3 separate regions of the Homo sapiens genome follow, and all the other regions are linked to region 1. Evidence: promoter capture Hi-C in human tissues and cell types (Jung and others, 2019). All regions are on one chromosome and are shown on one strand. Each heading gives the region's core, a stretch centred on a gene start or on the middle of the fragment in contact. The rest is flanking DNA. Distances are from core to core; before and after follow the strand shown.

Region 1 (3,843 bases), core at 428-2,927:
TATTTTAACATGGAATATTATTTGACAAGAAATCTGATATTGACAGCATGAGACTTTTGTCATACCTAATTACTATATTTACTCATTCTCTTTTGTATTAGTTGTATCTCCCACCATCAGAATTTCCAGGCTGAAACACAGAACTTTAATCTCTGAGTAAAAAGTGTGAAAAATAAAAGTTCTTTATTAAACTATGGCAACTTATAAAAAATAATATCTTTTTAAAGGTTTACTGGAATTTTCTTATAAACTCTTCTATATCTGACACCTAGACAAATGAAACCTTCTGAATAGATTTTAAGTATTTTAAGAAAGTAGATAGTTCTCAAGAATAATAGGAGGAACTGCAGGGAATTCAAAGGATATTAAAAGTCTGACTTGTACATTTAAATAAGGTTTCTTTGTTTGAATAATTTTTTGCTTTATGAAAATACACATCATTCTTTTCACAAAGGATGACAATCACACAAAAGAATAAAATATATGTAATTCTTTTTCCTCCTGCAATGATACAATATCAACTATTGTCTGTTTTGCTGTGATCGTGGAACAGCAGCATGATTCCATGTTCTCAAATATTCCCATGGTTTGTTCTTAAAGCCAGAATCTGGCACAATTTGAATTGGAAAGATAAATACAGCTCTGCTCAGCTGACAAACACACAGGCATGCACCACCCTCCCTTCCAAATTCTAACAGCAGAGTTTCTCTTCCCTTGAGAAATCTGAAATCTAAAATTGCATTCGGACTGCAAAATTCTGCTGAAAGAGCCTTAGGCTATTTTCCATGGTCTAAGGTAAAATCGTTTTGGCTTTGGTCCAACACAACGCCTCAGTTCCTTTAAAAGATTAACTAAAGGTCTGTGAACTTGGAAAAAAGAATTCCCGTTTCTGGAATTCGAGTTCTATGGATGTTTGTTATTGCTCGCATTTGTTATATGAAGACACCTCGCAAACAGGAGCGCAAACCTTAGAGCGCAGCTGCCTCCCGGGCTCGGGTCAGCGCTGGACCGCGCGGCAGCTGGACGGCCTGAGTGGCGCCCCGCGGGCTGCGCCCCCGGCCTCGCCAGAGACCCGCTAGGGTTGAGCCCTGACCCGGGCACCCCGCGGGCTGCTGTTCCCAGCTCCGGATGCCAGCCGGGCTGCAGCCAGAGCGCGTCCAGCCGGGGGCAGCGCTTTGTCCATCCCCCGCCCCATCCCCAGGAGGCTCCTTCGCGGATCCCCGACACTCTCCTCCCGGGTTCGGCCCGCGCCTGCTCCACCCGGGTGAGTTGGGAACCGGAGGGACCTGCTCGGCACGAAAGAATTCAGCCCAGTACCCTCTCCGCTGTCTCTTCACTCCTGACAAGTGCCTGTTCCGCCACCCTAATCCCCATTTTTCCAGCCGCGCTCCCTTCACCTTCCCCACCCCGCTCTCTTGGGACCCCCGACAACGCCCTGGCACCAGAGACGGGTGCGGGCTCCCAGGGACCTGCGCAGACTCGCAGCCCGCGCGGGGACCCGCCACGGCCCCTCGGTGCAGGCCTACCCGGCGCGAAAGGGGTTGGCAGGGAGGGGCGGGAGCCCGTACCTCGGGGCGCCCCGGCCGCTGCAGGCCCTGGGCTCCCGGGAGCGCGGCCCAGCGCGATCGCTCCTGCACCCCGGCGGTGGCGGCAGCAGCGGGAGCAGGACCTGGAGGCGGCGGTGGGGAAGAGGGGGCGGGGGTTTAACGGCGTCTCGAGAACACGTGACTGTTCCGGGGACCCCCGAGACCCTGCTCCAAGGCGCCTGCTCCGCGCCAGCCTCTTCCAAAGCCGGGGGCCGGGGGCGTCCCAGACCTACGCCGCTGTTTGGGCGCTCTAGGGAGAAGCCACAGGGCCCCGGGATGTCGTCCCTTCACCCTGGCCTCGGGTCCCAGGCCGACCAAGTTAACTTGATGGGCAAATCGAGTTTTGCCGGTCCAGCCCTCAACCCTGTGTAGTGAACTCTGAGAAGTCTTGGACTGGTGTGAGGATGGCTGTGCCCCTAAGTTCTTAGTATTCCTGAGAACAAGCTTCGACTCTCAGGTTTTATCTTTGTTTGGGGTGGGGGACGGTGGGGGGTGGTGTGGTGATAGAAAGAAAGAAAGAAAAAAGACAAAACACTGCTCTTCCTTTGCACCTCTTTGAAGTAAGGAAGAGTGGAGGTGGGGAGGCTGACCCAATGTTCAGGAGAGGCAACAGCGTCTGCGGTAATGAGCCCAGCAGAATAGAAGGGAAGTTTCCCCACTCCAAGGAGTGGCAGCTGTGGGTGTGGGCAAGTGGCAGGAGCAGGGGAGTGAAGCTGAAATGAAATCAACGCTGCTCAAGACTATATTCAATAGCAAAGAGAAGACGAAGGGCTAAAAACGAATTGTCACAGGTTAAAAAAAAAAAAAGACGGGAAAAAAGCCCACACAAAAGAAGAAGAGAAAACCTGTCCTTCTGTTCCTTCCCAACATGATTTCCATCCCTAATGTTTCCAAATCTGTATTGCGCAGGTTTGCTTTATTTTTAGCTAATCATTAGGTGGCAGGTACTTTAGGCGCGCGCGCGTGTGTGTGTGTGTGTGTGTGTGTGTGTGTGTGTGTGTCTGTGAGAGAGAGAGAGAGAGAGAAGGAGAGAAGGGAGAAAAGAGACATTGGGTAGATGTCCATGTGTCTTTGGACATAGCTTTACCATGAGAAAGGGTGTAGTTATTGTACCCTTTAATACTGAGAACTATTATGTAACAGACAGCATCTCCTGCTGAGTAGAGTCGTGTGGGATAAACCGAAGAGAACTGTACCCCTTGGGAGCAATGTGACTTGTAATTCTAACATCTGGGGCAGACATCACTGTTACAGAAGAGGTCAAAGAAAATTTTTTGTGTCCCCTTTCTGCTGGATTTCAGCATTCAATACTCAGGGGATCTGTATAGATTGCTATTTCATCAGTCAAAGAGTCATCCAAGAGCTTTTAAAGAACTCAAGTAAACACAGTTCCTGTTTTATTCTTCTGTGTGTTATTTCTGAAATATTAATATATTCTCCCCAAAAGCTTAACAGAATAGGCCGTCTGAGCAGGCACCTGGGATTCTGCAGTAAGGAGTAGGGGATGAAAGTGTCAAGAAGGGATGACCTTGAGAAAATAAGGCTTGTTTTTTAGACTTTCTTAACTCCACTGTCTCTGCGGTTAATGCAGTACACATTGCCACATAAATTTCTATCTTTCCATCTCTTGCACAGTCATAACATGTACACTTCAAATACACATTGTCTTTAAAACAAATTCCAAGTGAACCCCATTGTGACTTTCAAAACACTAGTCTATGCTACAGGCTTTTGCATATTAAAAGTATTAAAAAATCTTATTTTTTATTTTCCACAAATTTGTTTTCTATTTTGATGATATGAACCTTTAGGTTGAAGTCACTGTTATTAGAGTATTGAAAATAAAAGGCTACCTGCCACTGATACAAAGATTCTAATTAACCTGGCTATTTTCCCTTCCCACTGCACCCACAAACAAGCAAGTCTCAAAAACAGGAGTTGGCATTTCTTCTTTAAATACACGTGACAATACACAGTATTAAGAACACTTGGAGTGGACAAGTTATTAAGAGTTTTTTTGAGGAAATTATAAATTTACAAATTTAAGCAATATGCTACATAAAGAGGAAGATATGAAGATAAGTGTGTTTTTACCTTTAAATTTCCCAGGGGGGATTTGAGACTGATCATCATTACTCTTTGTAGAACATAATAATTTTATTTTTATTTTATGGAGTAACATCTTAGCGAAGGGGAATACCAGAACAGAAGTAGTAATGTCCACCTCTGTTTTATGTATTTTTCCTACTCACTATTT
Region 2 (3,843 bases), core at 478-2,977, 190 kb after region 1:
TCCTCACTTTTCTCAATTCTCCCCAAACTGACACCAAAAAGGTTTAGTTTTCATTTGGAATGTTTGATTCCTTCTCCCACCAACCTCTGTTGTCCTTTTTCCATATTTGTGAGTGAAAATCCTACTGAAAGTTCTTTATATAATTTTACTTTAGAAAGTCATCAATTTACTGATACTCTTTTTTGCTCAATAAGCCTTCACAAATGCTTGAAAAGTCAACAGTGTTGTAAATTATAAATGTTACCTTTTCAGAGGGCCACTTTTGACATATTAGCTTCTTCCATTTTTGCATTGAAAGTTTTAGGCACCCATTTTTTGACTGGTATGTCTATAACCTCATTTTTAATAGGATGGATTTTTAATGTTATGTGGTACTCTTTTGAATATTTTGCTTAACTGAATAACCTTGTAGACCATACAGATGTTAGAAAATTAAAATATAATAATCTTACAAAACAGACAATAATTGCTCTTTCATGGATATTCCAGAAGTGTGGTTAGGATCTTGCATTTCTTTAATGCCATCGTTACGAGTATCTGTTATCACAGAAGCACAGTAATTTTTTTATTGGGATCTAGTATATAATTTCTGTATTAATGTGTTGTCTTTTTGATTACATGCAGTTGGACATTTAAATTGTCGTTAGCCATTTGTGTAACTGTTTAGAACTTGTGCTCAGTTTCCTTACTATTCGTAGGTAAGAAAAATGAAACCAGAAAGAAAGAGACTTGTCTGAAGTCATATTAGTGGGGAGGAGCAGATCTGAACTGGTAATAGATACATTCCAAACTGCTGTGTTTTTAGTATTTGTGGAGACCTGCATAGCAACGTTGGAATCTGGTCGTTTGGACTTTCTCATTATTTGGTTTCTGAATAATCATGTAGCATATTTTCTCAAAGTGAAGGATGAATGTATCATCTAATGTAAGCTTTTTAAAATTGTATTTGCTTGGATTATATTGCCTCTCAATAAAGCTTTTGACTTGGAACTGTGTAGTGTGTGGGAAATAAATGGTGGAGCTTCTTTAGTATGTTGAATTTTAGTAGTTCATTTGCGAAATGCTGTGGTGTTTGGGGATGTTTATTTCCATGCAAGCTTTTCATTTGCTAATGATGTGAATGAAATAGTTTTCTTCCTTTCCTTTCCTACTCTTTGTTATGTGTAGAAGTATTGAATAAATGAGTCCAGAAAAACTTTTTGCTGTTCTTTGATTTTTTGTTAGTAAACATTTACAAAAATTTCATTTGTATGATAAAATAGTTATTTCTAATGGCAGATAATGTACATCCAGAACAGGCTTTTAGTTGCATTTTAATTTTGGGAAACAATGAAATTAAAATATAGATTTATCACAAATCTCCATTTCCAAGTAGAGTATTCAGGTTAGCATTAAGACTTCATTAGTAATATGGTGCATGCTGTTAAAATGTGGTCTTAAAATTATACCTGTGTTAATGGCCAGAAATAAATTGATATTGTTAATGCCTGGGAATATGTTTTGTAATGGAGGGCTTTTTTGATGTGTGAGAATGTAAAGCAGTGCTGTGTAATAGAGCTTTCTACAGTGTTGGGGATGTCCATATTGTGCTGTCTTACTTGAAATGTGGCCAGTGTGACTGAAGACCAAATTTTAAATTTTATTTAATTTTAATTAAATTTAAATTTGTATCTAATATTGAGTAAACAAAACAAAAAGTCTTTCCTATCTACTCATCATTCTTTTAACAGGGGTTGTTGGTATCCAGGCAGATACTTTAATCTTTCTAATCTGCACTAAATCACCTTGTCTTTTATTTTTAGTACCCTTGGTTGTTGCTTATGTGTGATGAAGAAGGTCTTTCTATCCCAGGCCTTTCCTATCACCTCTACCTTCAATTTTTTTAGTTTATTAGTATGCCTTTTACATCTAATTCTTTGTATCTTCTGTGCACTGCCAGAGTGGTAATGTCCCACAGTATGTTTTCTGAGACCAAATTTTAAATTTTATTTAATTTTAATTAAATTTAAATTTGTATCTAATATTGAGTAAATAAAACAAAAAGTCTTTCCTATCTACTCATCATTCTTTTAACAGGGGTTGTTGGTATCCAGGCAGATACTTTAATCTTTCTAATCTGCACTAAATCACCTTGTCTTTTATTTTTAGTACCCTTGGTTGTTGCTTATGTGTGATGAAGAAGGTCTTTCTATCCCAGGCCTTTCCTATCACCTCTACCTTCAATTTTTTTAGTTTATTAGTATGCCTTTTACATCTAATTCTTTGTATCTTCTGTGCACTGCCAGAGTGGTAATGTCCCACAGTATGTTTTCTGGCCGTATTTTCCCCTTTATTGGAGTGTGTCTGTGTTTCTCTTCTCTGTCACACATATACACCCTTCCCTGAAACGTGGAAAAGCAAAGTGATTGATTTTTATTTCCTTAAAGGAGATTTTATATCTGAGGAGATTTATTCATTATCTTAGGAGGGGCAGCAGGTGTGTTTTCAGGGAGCCAAGTGTTAATCTAATAATTGTAATAATGTTTGCTACTGCAACCCAGAGGTACCTATGCATCAATCCTAGGCAGTTAAGCTTCCTTGGAAGCCTGGCTTTTAAATTTTATTTTTGAGAAGATTAGGTTCAAGTCTTTTTCATTCTTTGAGGATTCTATATCGGGTTATATTTTCATTATCTGATTTCTGCTCAGACAAAGACTGACTTTTGAGATTTTTGCTAAGCTTGGACTGAAGAGGTAGGTTAGTTCATCTAATAGATATATATTAATACTAAATACCTACTATGTGCTAGCCATCTTTTTGGGTGCTATAGCAATGAGCAAGACTGGGTCCTCGTTATGATTGGGACTAAAAAGGTCTTAGTTATGGTTGGATTTATTGTGTAGTTAGAGAAATAGACATTAAGTAAATACAGAAATATTGGACAACAATGTGTTTAGAAAAAAGCAAAGCAGCAGGATAGTTTGATAAAGAATGACTAGGCTTGGTAGTGATACAGTAGATTAAATTTGCTAGTTGAAAAAGAGATGGTGACATTTGGCATTCATACATCAAAACAAAAATCTTATATTACCTTGTCTGACATGGCTGCCAAAGGAAATCGCTTTTTGTACCTTTCAGAGATCTATCCCCTTTGAACCTTCTAAAGTTCTCTCTGAACCTGCCAAAAATTTTCATGGAAAGCACATCTCTTGGGTGCCTTCCTGTTGGCGTTTGAGTTATTTTTCCTCTTTGTTCTCCTCTCTCGCTCTGTTTTTTTTTTTTTGTTTTTGTTTTGTTTTCTGAGATGGAGTCTTTTGCTCTGTCGCCCAGGCTGGAGTGCAATGGTGCGATCTCTGCTCACTGCAACCTCCATCTCCCAGGTTCAAGTGATTCTCCTGCCTCAGCCTCCTGAGTAGCTGGGATTACAGGTGCCTGCCACCATGCCTGGCTAATTTTTGTATTTTTAGTAGAGATGGGATTTCATCATGTTGGCCAGGCTGGTCTCAGACTCCTGACCTCAGGATCCGCCTGCCTTGGCCTCCCAAAGTGCTGGGATTACAGGCATGAGCCACCATTCCTGGCCTGTCCTCCTCTCTTAGCATGCTCATTTAAAAGAAACAAATAGATCTGTTTTCCCTTAATTCAGACCTCCACATATGTGCCTTTTTCAAAATTAATATATACTGCTTCATTTAACTGTACTTTCAAAGGCAGACTCTATAACAGGATCTTAACCTGGAATTATACAAGGATGGTTTCACTTACCTCTTACATATTTTGTATATACTATTTAGTTTTTATATACCTTTTATGTTTTGTGGAGTATTTGGGGCGAGACTTCATGTGCATCACTTTTATAGGTAG
Region 3 (3,843 bases), core at 942-3,441, 150 kb after region 1:
TCAAGTTCCCTTCTCATTACAGGACCTTAGGCAAGTAAAGGAAGACTTAGGTTGATTTTCTGTTGACCCTGATATATAGAAGCTTTCCAAAATTTAACCTGGGTGTTTCACCTCACATGAACAGATGTTATGCTGCTTCTAAGCCAAACCCTCACTTCAGCCAAAAAACAGGCAGCTCTGCAGGCAGCAGAGAATTTCAGAGATGAGCAACTTATCTCCTATAATACAACAAAAAGGAAAAGCGGAGATAAGGAAGGTGAGAAAAAAATAGAATAACCATTCCCAATAAGAAGGGAAACAGTTCCTCTTAACAACCCTGATTGGAACCCCAATAGCTCTGCAGATGAATGGAAAAGAAAACACTCATTAATGTGCATTTTAGAGGGCCTATGAAGAACTAGGGCCAAAGCTCTTAATTACTCTAAACTGTCCATGATAAACCAAAAACCAAATGAGAATCCTGCAGCCTTTATGGAAAGGCGGAGAGGCACTAATAAAGCACACTTCCTTATCCCCTGATTTAGTTGAGGGACAGTTCATTCTAAAGAACAAGTTTATTACACAGGCAGCTCCCAATATTAAAAGGAAACTACAAAAGCAAGCTACAGGACCAATTAGCACCTTAAAGAACCTCCTGAAGGTGGCCACTTAGGCCTTTTATAATAGGGACCACGAGGAGGCCCGAGAGAGACAGAGACAGCATAAAAGAAAGACTGAGGCTCCAGTACCTGCTTTGCAGGCTTGCAAAGTCCAGGATCCCTGAGGTGCATCTGCTCATTGCTATCGGTGTGGCAGCCAGGGCACTTTAAAAAGGAGTTCCAAAACAGCAAAAAGAAGCCATCTCAACCCTGTCCAGCCTGTGGTGGAGACCACTGGAGATCAAACTGCCCCCAAAGACAGAGGTCACTGGGTTCAGAAGCAGTCTCACAAATGGTCCAACAGGACTAATGGGTCCTGGCGCTCAAACCCCAGGCTCCAGCAGCTTAAACTGCCATTACAGCACAAGAGCCTCACATGATTCTAGGAATTGAAAGAAGGAAGATAGACCTCCTTCTAAAGACTGCAGCCAGTATCTTTCTTCTCTCTAATCCAGGCCTCCCTTCTTCCCAAGGCACGACCATAAAGGGCATCTCAGGAAAAATTCTAATCCAGTATCTTTCTCAACCCCTTAGTTGCAGTTAGGAGGACCTATTATTTACACATGTCTGCAAGCCACTGCCACAGTGGCTCTGCTAGTCAAAGAAGCCTCCAAATTAACCGTGGAAAATAACTTAACTGTTTATACCCCACATAATGTGGCAGAATTACTGTCCTCTAGAGGGAGCCTTTAGCTAACCAACAGCCAGTAAAGCAAGAGACACGTAACGCAGGATAAGCAGTGGTCACCCTAAATTACATCTCTCCCCAGACACAAGCACTCAATTAGCTGAACTAATAGCTTTTACAAGAATACTTGAATTAAGCAAGGGAAATGTAGGCAACATTTACATTGACTCCAAGTATGCTTTCTTAGTTCTCCATGCTCATGCTGCCATTTAAAATGAAAGATATTTCTTACTACTAGTGGATCTACTATAAAATATCACCAGGAAGTTAACAGGTTATTATCCTCAGTTTTCCCTCCACAAGAAGCAGCAGTGATGCGTTGTAAGGAACATCAAAAGGAAACACATGAAATAGCTGAAGGAAACAAGTTAGCTCATCAGGAAGCCAAGACAGCAGCAAGAAAGCCTCAGGGCCTCAACACACTTAAAGCCCCTCTAGCCTGGGAAGGCTCCATAAAAACAATTAAGCCTCAGTAATCCCCTGCAGAAATGGAGTGGGCCACTTCTTGGAGGTACACTTTCTAGCCTTCAGGACAGCTACAGTCAGAGAATGGCAAACTCCACTTGCCAGCCTCTAGACAATGGAAAGTCCTTAAAATCCTTCACCAAAATTTTCACCTGGAAAAGGAAAAAACTTACCAGTGTGCCCAGAGATTGTTTTCAGGAGATTATTTGATAAAAAAAGAAAAAGAAAAAAAAAAAGCCAAATAGGTTATTAATGCTTGAAAAGTCTGTCTTAAAAATAATTTCCTCAACAAACGGGTCTTTCCTCCTCAAACCCAAAGAATAGAAAGCTATCCAGGGAAGACTACCAAATGGACTTCACCCACATGCCAAAGACATGGAGAGAAGAATTTCTCTTCACTAACTGGAAAGAAGAATTTCAATGCTGTACAGAAAAGCCTGTGAGGTAATAAAAGTGCTAGTTAATGAAATAACCCCTGGCTCTGGTCTACCTAAGTATCTCCAAAGTGACAATGGCCCCTTATTCAAAGCAGCTGTCACCCAGGGAGTCTCAAAGGCACTAGGCTTATAGTATCATCCCCATTGTGCTTGGAGGTCCCAGTCCTCAGGGAAGGTACAGAAAACAAATGACATTACCAAAATACACCTCAGAAAACTTCTAGGAAACTCACCTCCTTGGGTCACTCTTCTTCCCTTACTACTACGGCCTTACTACAGAAAAAAAAAATACCCCTTGAAAGTTAAGCCTGAGTCCTTGCGAAATGCTGTATGGACGGCCTTTCATTACAAATGACTTCCTATTAGATCAGAAAACTTCTAAATTAGTTAAGCATGCAACCTCTCTAGCTCATTTCCAACAAGAATCAACACAACTAGCAGAGGCCCAATACCAAGAAATAGGACCACCTGTTTTTAACCCAGGAGATTTGGTTTTAGTAAAAACTCTCTCTTCCTCGCTCTCCTTCCCTAAGCCCAAGCTGGGAAGGGCCCTACACTGTTCTTTCAATGCTCTCTCCCACTTGGCAATAAAAGTTACAGGTATCAACTTCTGAATACATCACACTCAAGTAAAAGCCTGAAAATCTGAGGGAGCAACCCGACAGCCCAGAGAACACCCTGAATATCAATGTGAAGAAATAGAAGATACTAAGCTGAAAATCATAAAAGATAAGTAACTGAGGGCTACTCGCCTTACTCAGTCCCATCTTTACCTCACCAAATCCTTTTTGTTGTTTCTACCTTCCCTCTCAAAATTCACCACCAAATATTAGAACTTCTTTTTAACAGATATTTGCAAGGAAACTTTAATTACTCATACACTTGCATTTATAACTTCATAGGACCCCAGAGGGAAACTATATCTTGGCAAGTAAAATTTTAAATGGAAATTATCTATCACGCCACTCTCGCAAGAATTGTTATACTCACTCCACTATTTGCAATAGAACTATACATTGTGGTGAGAGGTGACAGCGTGATGGCAGTCCTCACAGCCCTCGCTGGCTCTCCGCGCCTCCTCTGCCTGGGCTCCCACTTTGGCGGCACTTGAGGAGCCCTTCAGCCCACCGCTGCACTGTGGGAGCCCCTTTCTGGGCAGGCCAAGGCCAGAGCCGGCTCCCTCAGCTTGCAGGGAGGTGTGGAGGGAGAGGCGCCAGCGGGAACCGGGGCTGCGTGCCGCGCTTGCGGGCCAGCTGGAGTTCTGGGTGGGCGTGGGCTTGGCGGGCCCCGCGCTCGGAGCAGCCCGCCGGCCCTGGCAATGAGGGGCTTAGCACCCGGGCCAGCAGCTGCGGAGGGTGTACTGGGTACCCCAGCAGTGCCAGCCTACCGACGCTGCGCTCGATTTCTCAGCAGGCCTTAGCTGCCTTCCCGCGGGGCAGGGCTTGGGACCTGCAGCCCGCCATGCCTGAGCCTCCCACCCCCTCCATGGGCTCCTGTGCCGCCCGAGCTTCCCCGACGAGCGCCACCCCCTGCTCCAGGGCGCCCAGTCTCATCGACCACCCAAGGGCTGAGGAGTGTGGGCGCATGACACCGGGACTGGCAGGCAGCACCACCT

The links. Contacts are between HindIII fragments. The study calls those that stand out against the background at their distance.
Region 2: a fragment that was not itself captured here is called in contact with the fragment with the promoter of NPY5R in region 1 in 1 of the 25 tissues and cell types used here (dorsolateral prefrontal cortex).
Region 3: a fragment that was not itself captured here is called in contact with the fragment with the promoter of NPY5R in region 1 in 1 of the 25 tissues and cell types used here (H1 embryonic stem cells).

Annotation. Positions count from the first base shown.
Region 1 is chr4:163,341,726-163,345,568 of GRCh38, reverse strand. NPY5R (neuropeptide Y receptor Y5) reads right to left here and starts at 1,677. Exons shown (of 4, transcript NM_006174.4): 1 at 1,569-1,677. It also overlaps a transcript of NPY1R not described here. The HindIII fragment of the contact is 9,678 bases long and covers 1-2,532 here.
Region 2 is chr4:163,154,310-163,158,152 of GRCh38, reverse strand. All of the region lies in intron 2 of NAF1 (nuclear assembly factor 1 ribonucleoprotein), which reads left to right. Among named protein-coding and RNA genes, the nearest start is that of NAF1, 11 kb to the left of the region's middle. The HindIII fragment of the contact is 3,581 bases long and covers 1-3,517 here.
Region 3 is chr4:163,189,677-163,193,519 of GRCh38, reverse strand. No RefSeq gene overlaps it. Among named protein-coding and RNA genes, the nearest start is that of NAF1, 25 kb to the right of the region's middle. The HindIII fragment of the contact is 5,452 bases long and covers 1-3,843 here.